Linked DNA regions of Homo sapiens: region 1 is linked to region 2. Evidence: promoter capture Hi-C in 16 types of primary human blood cells and fetal thymus (Javierre and others, 2016). All regions are on one chromosome and are shown on one strand. The core of a region is centred on a gene start or on the middle of the fragment in contact, and the rest is flanking DNA. Distances in the headings are between cores, read along the strand shown. Region 1 holds the start of SEMA3F (semaphorin 3F). Region 2 holds the start of MIR5787 (microRNA 5787).

Region 1 (5,934 bases), core at 158-2,657, 75 kb before region 2:
GAGGAAGAAGAGAAGGAAATGCATGGGGTGGAGGAAGAGAAGGGAGAGGAGGAGAGGGCAGAGAAGGAAAAATCCAGGAGAAGAGAGGAGAAGGAGGAAAAGGAGGGAGATGGAAAAGAGGGAGAAGAGGAGAGAGGAAGAGGGAGAAGAGAGGGGAGAAGGAAGGAGAGGCAGAGGGAGAAGAGGAGAAAGGAAAGAGGAGAAAGAGGAGGGCACAGAAGACAGAACAGGAAGAGGATGAAGGAGAGGACAAAGGGCCAACGCCCCTGGGAGCCTCCGCAGGGTGCCCGGGGCAGGGCTGAGAAGTGGTCCTGGTGGTGAGGCCATGACCTTGGAAAGTTGGGTTGGGCAGAGGGTCCCTTCCTGGGGTCACGGTAGGCCCTTCTCAGTTGCTGAGCCATTGGCTCATCACCAGGCCATTTGAAAGCAAATGTCCCCTTGAGGAGAGAAGGTGCTAGCTGATCTGGCCTCTCTAAGGTATGGAACTATAAGGAGAGTCTGTGGGAGCTGCTGGCCTGAAATAAGGGCTGGCGATTGAGGCGATCACGGGGAGTCGTTGAATGGCTGGAGAGAGCTGTGTGGCTGGGCTGCCCCCGACCTGGCCTAGGCTGGAGGCTGAGCCCGCGGGAAGGTCCGGCGGTGCCAGCCGTCCCAGGGGCTGCACCGCCACCTGCTGAGCAGCCCGGGCAGTCAGGGGTCCTGCGCCGCGGGGCCCACGCACGGGACCAGGGGCACGGCCGGCGGCGAGTGGGAATGAGGGACGCGGAAGGGGGTGCTCAGGTGAGCGCAGGCTCGTTGCTCCCTGGCGCTGCAGCCCTTCTCGCCAGGGAGTTGAATGCCCGGGTAAACACCAGGCGCGATGTGTGCGGTGTATTCACAGAGAGACAAAGCCAGGGCGGGGCGGGGGCGCCGCCCGCGAAGCGGGGGCGGGGGCGAGGGGTGCAGACTAGTCTCCCCCGGCGCGGGGTGCCCACCGCCTGGGAACCCTGAGCCCGGCCCACGGACAGGTGGAGCGGGGGCGGGGCGGTGGCTGGGCGGGTCCCGCCCCGGGGGTGGGGCTGGGCGGGCCGGGCGGGGCGGGGCTGCGCTATGCAAATGTCGCCCACGGGCGGCCAATTGCCGGCGCTCCCCGCGCGGCTCTGAGCGCCCCGTCCCGCCGGCGGCCGCGAGACCAGAGCGAGCGAACGAACCGCGGCGGTCCGGAGAGCCCCGAGCGCAGCGCAGGACCTGGGTACGCCGCGAGGAACCGTGCAGCCCAGCGCGGCCGCCCGGCCCGGGTCCAGCAGCCAGGAGAGCGCAGCGCTTCGAAGCCGAGTGCGCGCCACCGCCCGCGCCCCGCGCTGGGGAATGCGCCCTCGGCGCGCCGGCCAGGGGGCGCCCGCAGCCCACCCCAGGGGAGGCGGCCCCGAGCGCCCCTGAGCCTTCCCATGGCCCGGGCTGGGGCCCGGGCCCTCGGCTGCTGACGCGCCCGAAGCCCGCGGAACCGGTTAAGCCGCGGCCGCGGCGCCGATCCCGGCTGAGGCGCAGCGGCGAGAGGTCGCGGGCAGGGCCATGGCCCCGGGGGGCCGCTAGCGCGGACCGGCCCAACGGGAGCCGCTCCGTGCCGCCGCCGCCGCCCGGGCGCCCAGGCCCCGCCGCTGCGGAAGAGGTGAGTGCAGCGGGAACCGGGAGGGAGCGGGCAGGCGGCCGGGCCACCCCGCGACCCCTCTGGGACCCGCGGCACTGCAACTCCGCAGAAGTGTCCGGGGAGCGGGTCTCGTCGAGCCGGGGGGCTGCCCGCGGACATAGGGGCAACAAGGCTGGGGTGGGATTCTTACCTGTCCTGGAGGCCCGGACCCCTTACCTACGGGGCGGCGTATGGATGTGTGGATGATGTGGCCTGCGGGGTCACCCATGTGCAAAGCAACTTTTTCCTGCAAGGTTCTGGGTGGGTGCTCTCATACACCCCCACCTTCACGCTTCTGGAGCGGGAGTTCCGATCCCCCTTCTGCCTCAGCTCTCTCTCCCATTAACGCCCGAGGCAGCGCTCTTCCCCGTAGATGCGCTTGCCCTACCTCAGTGTCTCTACTTGAGGACTGGCCAGCCCGAAGGGAAGCGGTATACTGGCAGTCCCCACGTGGGGGGTCTCCCACATCAGCAGAGTGGGAGGACCTCCAGTCCTGAGGCATTTCTCCCAGCATTGTGCCAGCCCCTTGACCCCCAGCTGCCACCTTGGGTTTGCTTTTACAGCAGAGTCCTGCCTGGATTAGGGGCACGGCTGTATGTAGTGTGTAGGTGAGCTTGGAGAGCCTGCGGTCAATCCCTAGTTTGAACCAGGGGTCCCAGTGGTGAAGTGGGCAGGGGACAGCGGGGGCTTGGCGGGGTTGCCCCCAGCAGATGGGACAGGAGGGTATCAAAGTTGGCCTAGGAATGAGGCAGTGCTGGCGGGAGTTGGCTGGAGCTGGGGCTGGGGGCCCCACTGGATAAATAACTCCTAATTTTTGAGATAGCTGTGTTTTGCCACCAGAACATTACTGCTTGGGAGAGGTAAGGGAGACGCCAACCAAAGACACCAGTATGTCCACCCTGAAGCTGGGCCAGGTTGGGGACCTCTGTCCTCCTGAATTCACCCAGATAGTCTCCCAGTAGTTATCCTAGTTGCAGAGAAGGGAAAACTGCACCCAGGGGTTGGGAGCCCCATCTCAGCCCAGGGAGTTGGATGGAGCTGAGGCCTCTTCCCAGGCTACCCAAGGGGTGTGCCAGGACCCCGTAGGGTATAGTGTCTAGGCAGGCGGGGGGCACAGGCATGCCTACTCCTGCTGCTCCCCCTTCAGCTCCGAAGGAGCCAGGCCCGGAAGTGGGGAGGTGGGGGCCGGAGAGAAAGCAGGGGCCAGAGAGAAGGCGGCAGCCCACCCAGCCTCAGCCCCTCGCTGCTCAGCATACCTTGGGGGGAGGATGGAGCCAGGCTCAGGTGACCTTGACTGGGAAACCCTGGCCACAAAAGGGGGGTTTCAGTCCCAGCTATGCTGGGGTGGCTCTGCTTCCTGGTCCTTGAGGTGTTGGGGGATGGGGAAGCTGAGGAGCCAAGAAGGAGACAGAGCTCTTGTTGAAGTGGGGGAGGGAATCTGAGGGGCTGGGTAGCGGGTGGGGTGCTGTTGATAATCTCCCCATGTTCCCCTACGGCCCCTGTTCCTGCCTCCCTTCCATCCAGGCAGTCCTCAGCTCGGAGGAGCCAACCTCCCTTCCTGGAGACAGGCTGTCCACCCCCACCCCCAACTCCAAGCCTGGGCGGTCTGGATCCGGCTGTACAGTTTGGCCACCTGGCCCCCTGTCCCATCCCAGGTGCCTCCGGACTCCTTCCTCTGGCCGCCTCTTCCCTGCACCCCTTGCCAGCCCCGGCTCCTCGTTTCTTTGTTCAAGCGTCTCTCCTCCGTCCCTCCCTCTCTCCTCCCTCTCTCCTCCTCCCTCCCGCCTGCCTCCCTCCCTTGCTCCCTCCCACCAGCCTTCCTTCCCTCCTTCTCTGCTTTCTTCCTGGTGGGCTCCCAGGTGGCGGTGGCTGTTCTTCCTCTGTCCACTGACCTGGGCTTGGTGTGACTTGGGGGCTTTTCTGGGGCTGGGGCTGGGTGACAGGCATCTCGGGACTGGCAGAGGGGAAGGCACTGTGGGTTTGCCCTTTCTTTCCCTCTCTGTCCTTCTTCTCCTTTTCTTCCTTCCCTCTCCTTCTTTCCCCCACCTGCCAGGCTGTCCAAGAGGGGACCTGGACTTGAGACTGAGGCCCCAGCAAACTTGAGCCCCTCCCCATTCACCTCTTTAAAAGGCCAAAGCATTTGGATGGGAAGTCCCTGTAGGGACCCAGTAGAAAGACTCCCCACCTCTCTGGACACATTGGGTGACTCCAACCCTGTCCTTGGTGACACTGACTTTGTCACCATGAACATGGATGAAGGAAAAAATGAGGTCATGGGGAGGGGGGAGGCGGGAGGCAGGTTGACAGGAGCCCCCGTTACATAGTATCGAAGCTCTCTGAGGGACTCAGACGGCATCTTGCGCCAGGACAGTATCTCCCAGCTCCCCTGAGCCCCACCCCACTAGCAGGTCAAGTTCTTGAGCAAACTCATGCTTGTAAGGACGTGTGTGGGCCTGCAAGTGTGAACGTGTGCATATCCACAGCTGTTATCAGGGGCCTCCCAGGTGCACCTTGAGGGTGACGGTGGCTGCACAGCCATTTCTCCCACCTGCCCCCACTTCTCAGAGCCTGCCATTCAGTCAGCACTAGCTTTGTGCCTCCCAGACCTGAGGAGGGGCTGGTTCTGATTCCCCCATCCCCCAGCTAGCCTCCCCAGGAGGCAGCATCTATGACAGGGGATCTGGAAGGACCATGAGCGGTGTGCCAGGCCCTCGGGAGAGAACATTCACACAGAGGGTACCGCGTAAGGAGTGGGCCAAGAGGCTGAAGCTGCACTTCCTGTCTGAGGAGCCATGAGTGGTTTGCCTTGGCAGGAGAGGCCAGGGCTGGGGGAGGTGGGTCTAGGGATGTCATCAGGGTCTAATGAGTGGGGCCTAAGAGTCAGACTGGAGCCTGGGCTTTGCCTCAGCATTGAGCAGCTATGGCAGGGGAGTCCCAGGCCATAGTACTGCCAACTCCCATCCCAGCATCCTAGAGATGGGCCTGGGGTCCTGCCTGCCACGGAAGAAGGGAGTACACAGGGCAGATCTGGGGGATGGGGCTCACATTTTCAGTCTCGATGCCCCCACCCGCAGTGCATCCGGTTGGGGGTGGTGGTAGGAGTTGGCGCTGGTTTGTGCCGGGAGGGAGCAATATGTTCTGACAACTGGTGCTGGGCTGCGTTTACCCAACAGCCAGCCTGCCTGGGGAGACAATATTTGAAAAACACAGTATTGAAACTTGGACCTGCTGGGGCTATGGGGGATTCTGAAGGTGGCAATGCCGCTGGCCCAGATCCAGCCCCAGGCCCACTGGCCATCCTAGCTTCCCTTCTTTGCCCTCTAGAGGCGGAGCTGGAAGTTTTCCCTGGCAGGAAGTCCTTCTGCCTGTCTGACCTGGGTCTCTCCTGCTTTGATTTTAGTACAAGTGGACTCTGCCATTCTCTGCCTTTCCTTTTCTGACTGGTGCTCCCTCTCTTCCATCTTGGGCTGTCTGCATGTGTCTCATTCCCCCACTCTCTCCTGTGCCTCCCCTCTACCGTAATAATCAGGTCCAGGTTTCTCTGTACTGGGAGAAGACCTGTGGCTGGAGCAGGCAGGGATGCACCCTATCTGTTCCCCATTCCTCCAGGTGGGAGGGAGAAGGAGTAACCCACTTTATTGGCCACAGATGCAGGGGAGAAAGGAGAAAGCATGCTGGGAGCTGGAAAGAGCCCTAAGATCACCTGGTTGGTCTGGGCCCTGTGAATGGAATTCAGCATGCCATGAGGGGTAGGGTTTGAGTCTCCAGCAGCCCCCATCAGTTCTGGTGACCCCAGGCTGGGGCCTATTGGTACTATCTCCCCAGACAAAGGCAGGCCAAAGAACGCACATGAGGTGTGCACACAGGGGCATTCATGGCCCCAGGCTGGGGGTGGAAGCGTGGAGGTACCCATCAACCTCTTTGTTCACCTTGGGTAGAAATTGAACTCCCCCATCTGCCTCACACATTCCAATCTTGGTTCCCCTTCCCAGGTTTCTAGAGAGTGGAGCCTGCTTCCTGGGCCCTAGGCCCCTCCCACAATGCTTGTCGCCGGTCTTCTTCTCTGGGCTTCCCTACTGACCGGGGCCTGGCCATCCTTCCCCACCCAGGACCACCTCCCGGCCACGCCCCGGGTCCGGCTCTCATTCAAAGGTAAGAAGCTGTTTTGTTCTTCCCCAGAAATCATCCTCTCTTTACAATAGCGCTCGGCTCCTCTGCACACGAGAGAAAGGGTGGGTCAGGACAAAACCAGGACAAATTGTACAGCC
Region 2 (5,876 bases), core at 2,265-4,764:
CTAATCTCTGCTGTGAAGTGGAAGCGCGAGAAGGAGGGAGCGTCTCATGACGGAGGGTGTGAAGACGCTAGGCTGGACGAAGCAGAAAGGCGGGTGTCACTGGGGACGTTCTGAGGGTAAGCCGATGGCGGCTATCGCGGAGGAGACCCTGGCGAGGTGGGGCCCCGCGCGGGGCAAGGGGGATGGGGTGCCACAGAGGGCTAGTTGCAAGAGGACGCGTGACGGCTGCAGCTCTGCGGAGACCGGGCCTCGACGGCCAAGGAGTGGCAGGTCGGCGGAGGCGGGGGCCAGGCCCGGAGGCAGAGCGAGACAGGAGAGCAGGCAAGGCGGGGGCCACCGTGAGTGGGGGCCGCGAGGCGGGGGCTGGGGCGCGGGGAGGTGCTAGGTCGGCCTCGGCTCCCGCGCCGCACCCCAGGCCCGCCAGGAGGCGCCGCTGCCCCGCGAAGCCGTTCCGGCCTCTCCCGGCCACCGAAATCCCGCGCTCCGGCCTAGAGAGGCCCCGGAAGAGGCGGTGCAGCGCACCCCGAGGCCGCTTCCGGCTTCGGCTCTGCAGGAGAGGCCAGAATCGGGGGAGGACGCCTTGGGCGGGGCGTGGGTGAGAGAACCTGGGGGAGGTGAAGAACTAGGAGGTTGCACTGGGAGTGGACAAGGGGGAAAATAAGAATTAGGGAGGGGCTGCGGTGGGCAGGGCCAAGGGCAGGTAGCACCCTGCAAGGTTGCACCCTGCGCAGCTCTCGGTCCACTGCTGAGCCTCCTGGCTTTTTACCTCGCAAAATGCCGTCCTGGTGAGGTCCCTGGGGAGCCCACCGCTGGCCAAGACCCAGGACAGGGCAAGGAAGGCTTCCTAGAGGTAGAGAGGTGCACAAAGGCGGGAAAGCAGATACGGGGACATTGGGAGCCCCTTTAGACCGATCTTTAGGTGTCTGAGCCACGCCCATTTGGAGGGAAGGCTGAATGGGGACCAGCCCGCCCAAACCTGCTGGAGGAAACAAAAACTCACTCCCGTTATAATTGCTCCCCGCCCCCTCACCAGCTCTCTTCTCCCCGGAGACGGGACAGCCCTGTCTCCACAGGCTTCACTCCATTTCCCTCGAATGGTGCCCACCTCCTATCCTCCCATCTCTCTTATCCTCAGGTTCTACTACTCATAGCAACCAGAAGGAACTTTAAAAATCAGATCATGTTGGCCGGGCACGGTGCACGGTAGCTCACGCCTGTAATCCTAGCACTCTGGGAGGCCGAGGTGGGCGGATCACCTGAGGCCAGGAGTTTGAGACCAGCCTGGCCAACATGGCAAAACCCCGTCTCTACCAAAAATACAAAAAAATTAGCTGGGCGTGGGGGCGCGCCTTGTAATCCCAGCTACTCAGAGGCTGAGGCAGGGGAATCGCTTGAGCCTGGGAGACAGGCTGCAGTGAGCCAAGATCGCGCCACTGCACTCAAGCCTGGGTGACAGAGCAAGACTCCGTCTCCAAAAAAAAAAAAAAAAAAAATTCAGATGATGTCATTCTGCCTTCAACACCCTCCAGTTGTTTCCTTCATACTTGGAATGCAATTTAAACTTTCTTGCCCCATGGCCGGGATGATCTGGCCCCTGCTGACCCCTGCCCCCTGGTACTAGCCCACAGCCTGTCCTGTTGGCATGGCATGCCATGCTGGCCCTCACATTAGGGCCTTTGCACTGGCTGATAGCTTTTCAAAAGCTTTTTCTCCAACAGCCTGAAGTCACTCCTGACAAGGCCCACTTCCCTAACTCTGTCTGCTTGGCCTTGATCGCAGTATTTGCTCCATACGGTACAGGCAGAGCGATGCTTGTGCGTCCAGAACTCAGTGACCAGCTTCCCTCCCGCAACAGGTCCCTCCTCCCCTATTACTCCCTTGCTCCTAGTCACAATCTACAGGAAGCCCCTGAGCCCAGCTGGCAAGGTGCACCTTGCTTGGCTGTTTGCTGTTGCATCACCTTCATTAGGGCTGTTTTTGCTCCTTCATTAAATTAAATTCCAGGAAGCAGTGCTAATGACAGCCCTAACGAGTCACGGGAGAGGCTACCAGCCCCAGCCTTTGGAAAGCATGGCAAGGAGGACTAGGCAATAACATGAACAAAGCAGTAGCTCCTGGGAATAGAATTGATTATCATTTCCCAGGCCCCCCAAGGACCCTGGGCTTCCCAGGGGAGGTGGCCTTTGGAGACTGCCTATGCAACAGGCACAGTGGCAGGTTGTACCATGAACTCTTCAAGGACAAAGAAAAGGAGGGAGGTTAAGTTTAGGCCTTGGCCCCAAAGCCCTGAGAGCTCCTGAGTTCCCTGCAGGGCTTGGGTAGCTCCTCCCCAGTCATACAGGAACACCCTGAATGCCAGAACCAGTTGGGTTTGTAGGGCTAGGTGTGGATCACTGGCTTGGAGATGTTGGTGCCCCTACCTCAGCATCCCCTGGAGACTTTGGAACCCCCTGTGTGGCTTGTTCCTCCATGATGCCTCATGGCAGTCCCCTCTCACACCAGTCTTCTCTTGCTCTCGCTATTCTGGCCCGGCTGGACTCCTCTCTGGTTTGGGAGCATCCAGCTCCTTCCCAACCCAGGGCCCTTGCACTTGCTGCTGCCTCTGTCGTCACTCTCTTCTGGCTTGTTACAAGACTGGTCCTTCCACATGATTCAAAGATCCCCTCCTCAGACTATCTTCTCCTGCACATACCTCCCAGTGGCTCTAGTGTCACCCTGTTGATTTCCTCTGAAATGGTGAAGTTCATTTCCCTGTTTGTTTGGTGTGTGTTCCTCAAGGACAGGGCCCAGCTGCCTCTTTTACCATAGGGTTCTCAGCACATTGGCAGGCAATATGTTCAGGGAACAGTGGTTGAACAGATGACCCCTTCCTCTGGATCCTCCCGCACTGCCCCCCAGCCGCCACCCCTGTGTCAGGTTGGGCCCCCTTGCCTAATCCAGAAGCTTATGGGGAAGGGGTGCTGGGGCCTGAATTCTCCAGGTCAAAGCCAATGATCTGTGAAGAGGGTGGATGACCAGAAAGGGGGACTTTGGGATCCAGGACCCCCAGGCTTTTGAGTTTTCCTCCTGGACGAAGAGAGGCCTGGGAAGAGGGGTCTGCAAGGGAGCAGGGAGGGAGGGCAGGATGGCTGACTCCAGTTTCAGAACTTCCACTGGGCTAAGAAGCAGGAAGGGGAAAGCGCAGGAGTTGAACCAGGAAGTAGAACCTGCCCCAGGGCAGTAAGGCGGGAGCAAGCTGTAGCCACGAGGTCTACAAGCAGTAGCTGCAAGGCTGTGATTGAGTTGGTCACAGGTCCTTGGCCAGGGACTCCCTGTCATCTGGGAGCCGTGGAGGTAGGGTGGTCAGGATCCTGAACTCTGGGCATCCCTGTGGGGTCCTACCTAGTCCTGGACTCTGGGCAGGGACAGGCACACCCACCCCGAAACTGCCTTTGGGGAAGTGCTAGCAGCTTCCCCTTCCTAGAGCCTGCAGGCAAGCATGTCACAGCCCACTGAGAGGGTCTTCATTCCTCAACCTGCTCAGGGCTACTGCTCGATAGGAACTCAGGCCAAGCTGGACCTGCTGTGCTGCCTGTGGTGAGCCCCAAGACTATTCTGGCAGTAGGGGTGAACCAGCAGCTGCCACTTCTCCATTCCAGCTGAGGGGCCACCCTCAACTCTGCTGATGTCATTCCATTGTCCTTTATGGTCTAGTCCAAGCGGTGCTGGGCCTGGTGGGCATGGGGTCAAGTCATGCCTCCTCTGGTGCTCGTGAGGCCCTGGCTAGGCAGCTGCCCTCTGCCCCCAAAATGAACTCTCCTGAAAGGACTCCTGGATTCCTGAGTATGAAGAAACTGAGATGCCCACGATGTACCTCACTGATGACTGTGACTGGCTCCTGGCCCACTCTGGACCTCAGCTGACTCAGCTGCAAAGCAAGGGGTTTGTTTCTTCAGCTCTCAGCCTTAATTTTCTCGCTAGCCCTTCCCCAGACCCCTGCCTCTCAGACCTACCACCCTACCTTTGCATGTACTCTTCCATCTTCTTGCAATATTCTTCCGCACTGTTCTTCTCCCTCTAGCACTCCCTGCATCACCTCCTCAAAGAAAGCTTCCTGACCTTCCCAGGCACTATTGGTTTCTCTTTTCTCTGCGTATACAACTACATGAATATTTCCAGAGGGGCAGCAGCTCCCAGCTCCAGGATGAAGAGATTGATTGATGGATTGATTGATTGATTTTGAGACAGAGTCTACCTCTGTTGCCGGGCTGGAGGGCAATGGTGCGATCTCAGCTCACTGCAACCTCTGCCTCTTGGGTTCAAGCGATTGTCCTGCCTCAGCCTCGCAAGTAGCCGGGATTACAGGCATGCGCTGCCACGCCCAGCTAATTTTTGTATTTTTAGTAGAGATGGGGTTTCACCATGTTGGCCAGGATAGTCGATCTCTTGACCTCATGATCTGCCCACCTCAGCCTTCCAAAGTGCTGGGATTACAGGCTCGAGCCACCGCACCCGGCCTTATTCATTTAAGTTGATACATATTTACCTGCCACCCTGCAAGGGGCCTGGAATTAGGGATATGAGTGGGAGAGACCCACGACCAGAATAGTGGGATCTGGCTGGGGAAGGGGAAGCCCGAGGACAATGGGACTCAGAGAAGCCCAGCTCACAGCCAGGGAATGAAAGGTGGGGAGGAGGGATTAATTTAACAGGGTAGGGGGATGGGAGGGAAGATCGAGGGATGGAGAGAGCAAGGCAAGCCAGATGGTTGGAGTGCCAGTGTGTTGCAAGTGGAGGGACATGAGGTGGACCCTTGAGTGGGGACAATCATAAAGCCTTACAGAAATCGCTACTATTGGGCCAGGCACAGTGGTTCATGCCTGTAATCCCAGCACTTTGGGAGGCCAAGACGGGAGGATTGCCTGAGCCCAGGAGTTTGAGACCAGCCTGGACAACATGGTGAGACTTCATCTCTATTAAAAAAAAAAAAAGGGCCGTGCACGGTGGCTCACACCTGCAATCCAGCACTTTGGGAGGCCGAGGCAGGCAGATCATCTGAGGTCAGGAGTTTGAGACCAGCCTGGCCAACATGGCAAAACCCCATCTCTACTAAAAATACAAAAATTAGCCGGGTGTGGTGGCAGGCGCCTGTAATCCCAGCTACTTGGGGAGCTGAGGCACAAGAATCACTTGAACCCAGGAGGCGGAGGTTGCAGTGAGCCAAGATCATGCCACTGCGCTCCAGCTTGGGTGATAGAGTCAGACTCAGTCTCAAAAAAAAAGAAATCACTACTATAACACCTCACCCTTATTGAGGGCTTTCTATGTGCCATGCACATTCTGCATGTTTTACATGTTTCCTCCTGGAGTCCTGACCTCTGCCTGTGCTTTGGGTATGTATAACCGTTAGGCCCATTTTACTGATAAGAAAACCGAGGTACAGGGAGTTTCTGGTACTTGTCCAAAGTAACAAGTAGCTGGCAAGTTTGCAAACTGCTCCTCAGAGTCTTTGCTTCCAACTGCCAGCCTACAGCCTCCAACTGCTGCAGAGTCCAAACCAGTGTGTGTGGGGGCTTCATCTATTCTCAGGGCATTGGGGAACCACAGAAAGTTTCCGAGCAAGGGGGTGATGTGATTTCTTTCAGTAGGATGCCCTTGGCTGCCATGTGGAGGATAAATTGTAGGGAAACAGGAGAGCCAAGGAAGACGTTAGAATCCTAGGCTGGGAGATAGTGGGGACAGAGAACAAATACAGATTGGAGGGGAAATTGAGGTAGGGAAGAGGCTGATGGCATATAGGGGTAGGGGAGGGGGTCATTGCTGTGGCTGGTGGGGGGATCATGAAGTGGTGGAGAGCCTGGGAACAGGGGCCAGTGGGATGGGATGTACCCAGTTCT

The links. Contacts are between HindIII fragments. The CHiCAGO score rates a contact against its expected background, and 5 or more counts as called.
Region 1: the fragment with the promoter of SEMA3F here is called in contact with a fragment that was not itself captured in region 2 in 1 of 17 cell types (endothelial precursors); the score reaches 5.2 in endothelial precursors.

Annotation. Positions count from the first base shown.
Region 1 is chr3:50,153,917-50,159,850 of GRCh38, forward strand. SEMA3F (semaphorin 3F) reads left to right here and starts at 1,408. Exons shown (of 19, transcript NM_004186.5): 1 at 1,408-1,648; 2 at 5,659-5,818. The coding sequence starts at 5,707. LOC124909484 (basic proline-rich protein-like) reads left to right here and starts at 754. Exons shown (of 2, transcript XM_047449434.1): 1 at 754-780; 2 at 1,145-1,873. The coding sequence starts at 754. The coding sequence ends at 1,873. It overlaps SEMA3F-AS1 (SEMA3F antisense RNA 1), which reads right to left and starts at 2,169. Exons shown (of 4, transcript NR_135301.1): 1 at 1,818-2,169. RefSeq lists silencers at 683-742, 753-892, 923-1,392. The HindIII fragment of the contact is 18,046 bases long and covers 1-5,934 here.
Region 2 is chr3:50,227,078-50,232,953 of GRCh38, forward strand. MIR5787 (microRNA 5787) reads left to right here and starts at 359; the gene lies at 359-413. It also overlaps a transcript of GNAI2 not described here. RefSeq lists a silencer at 202-571 and an enhancer at 3,480-3,709. The HindIII fragment of the contact is 1,146 bases long and covers 2,942-4,087 here.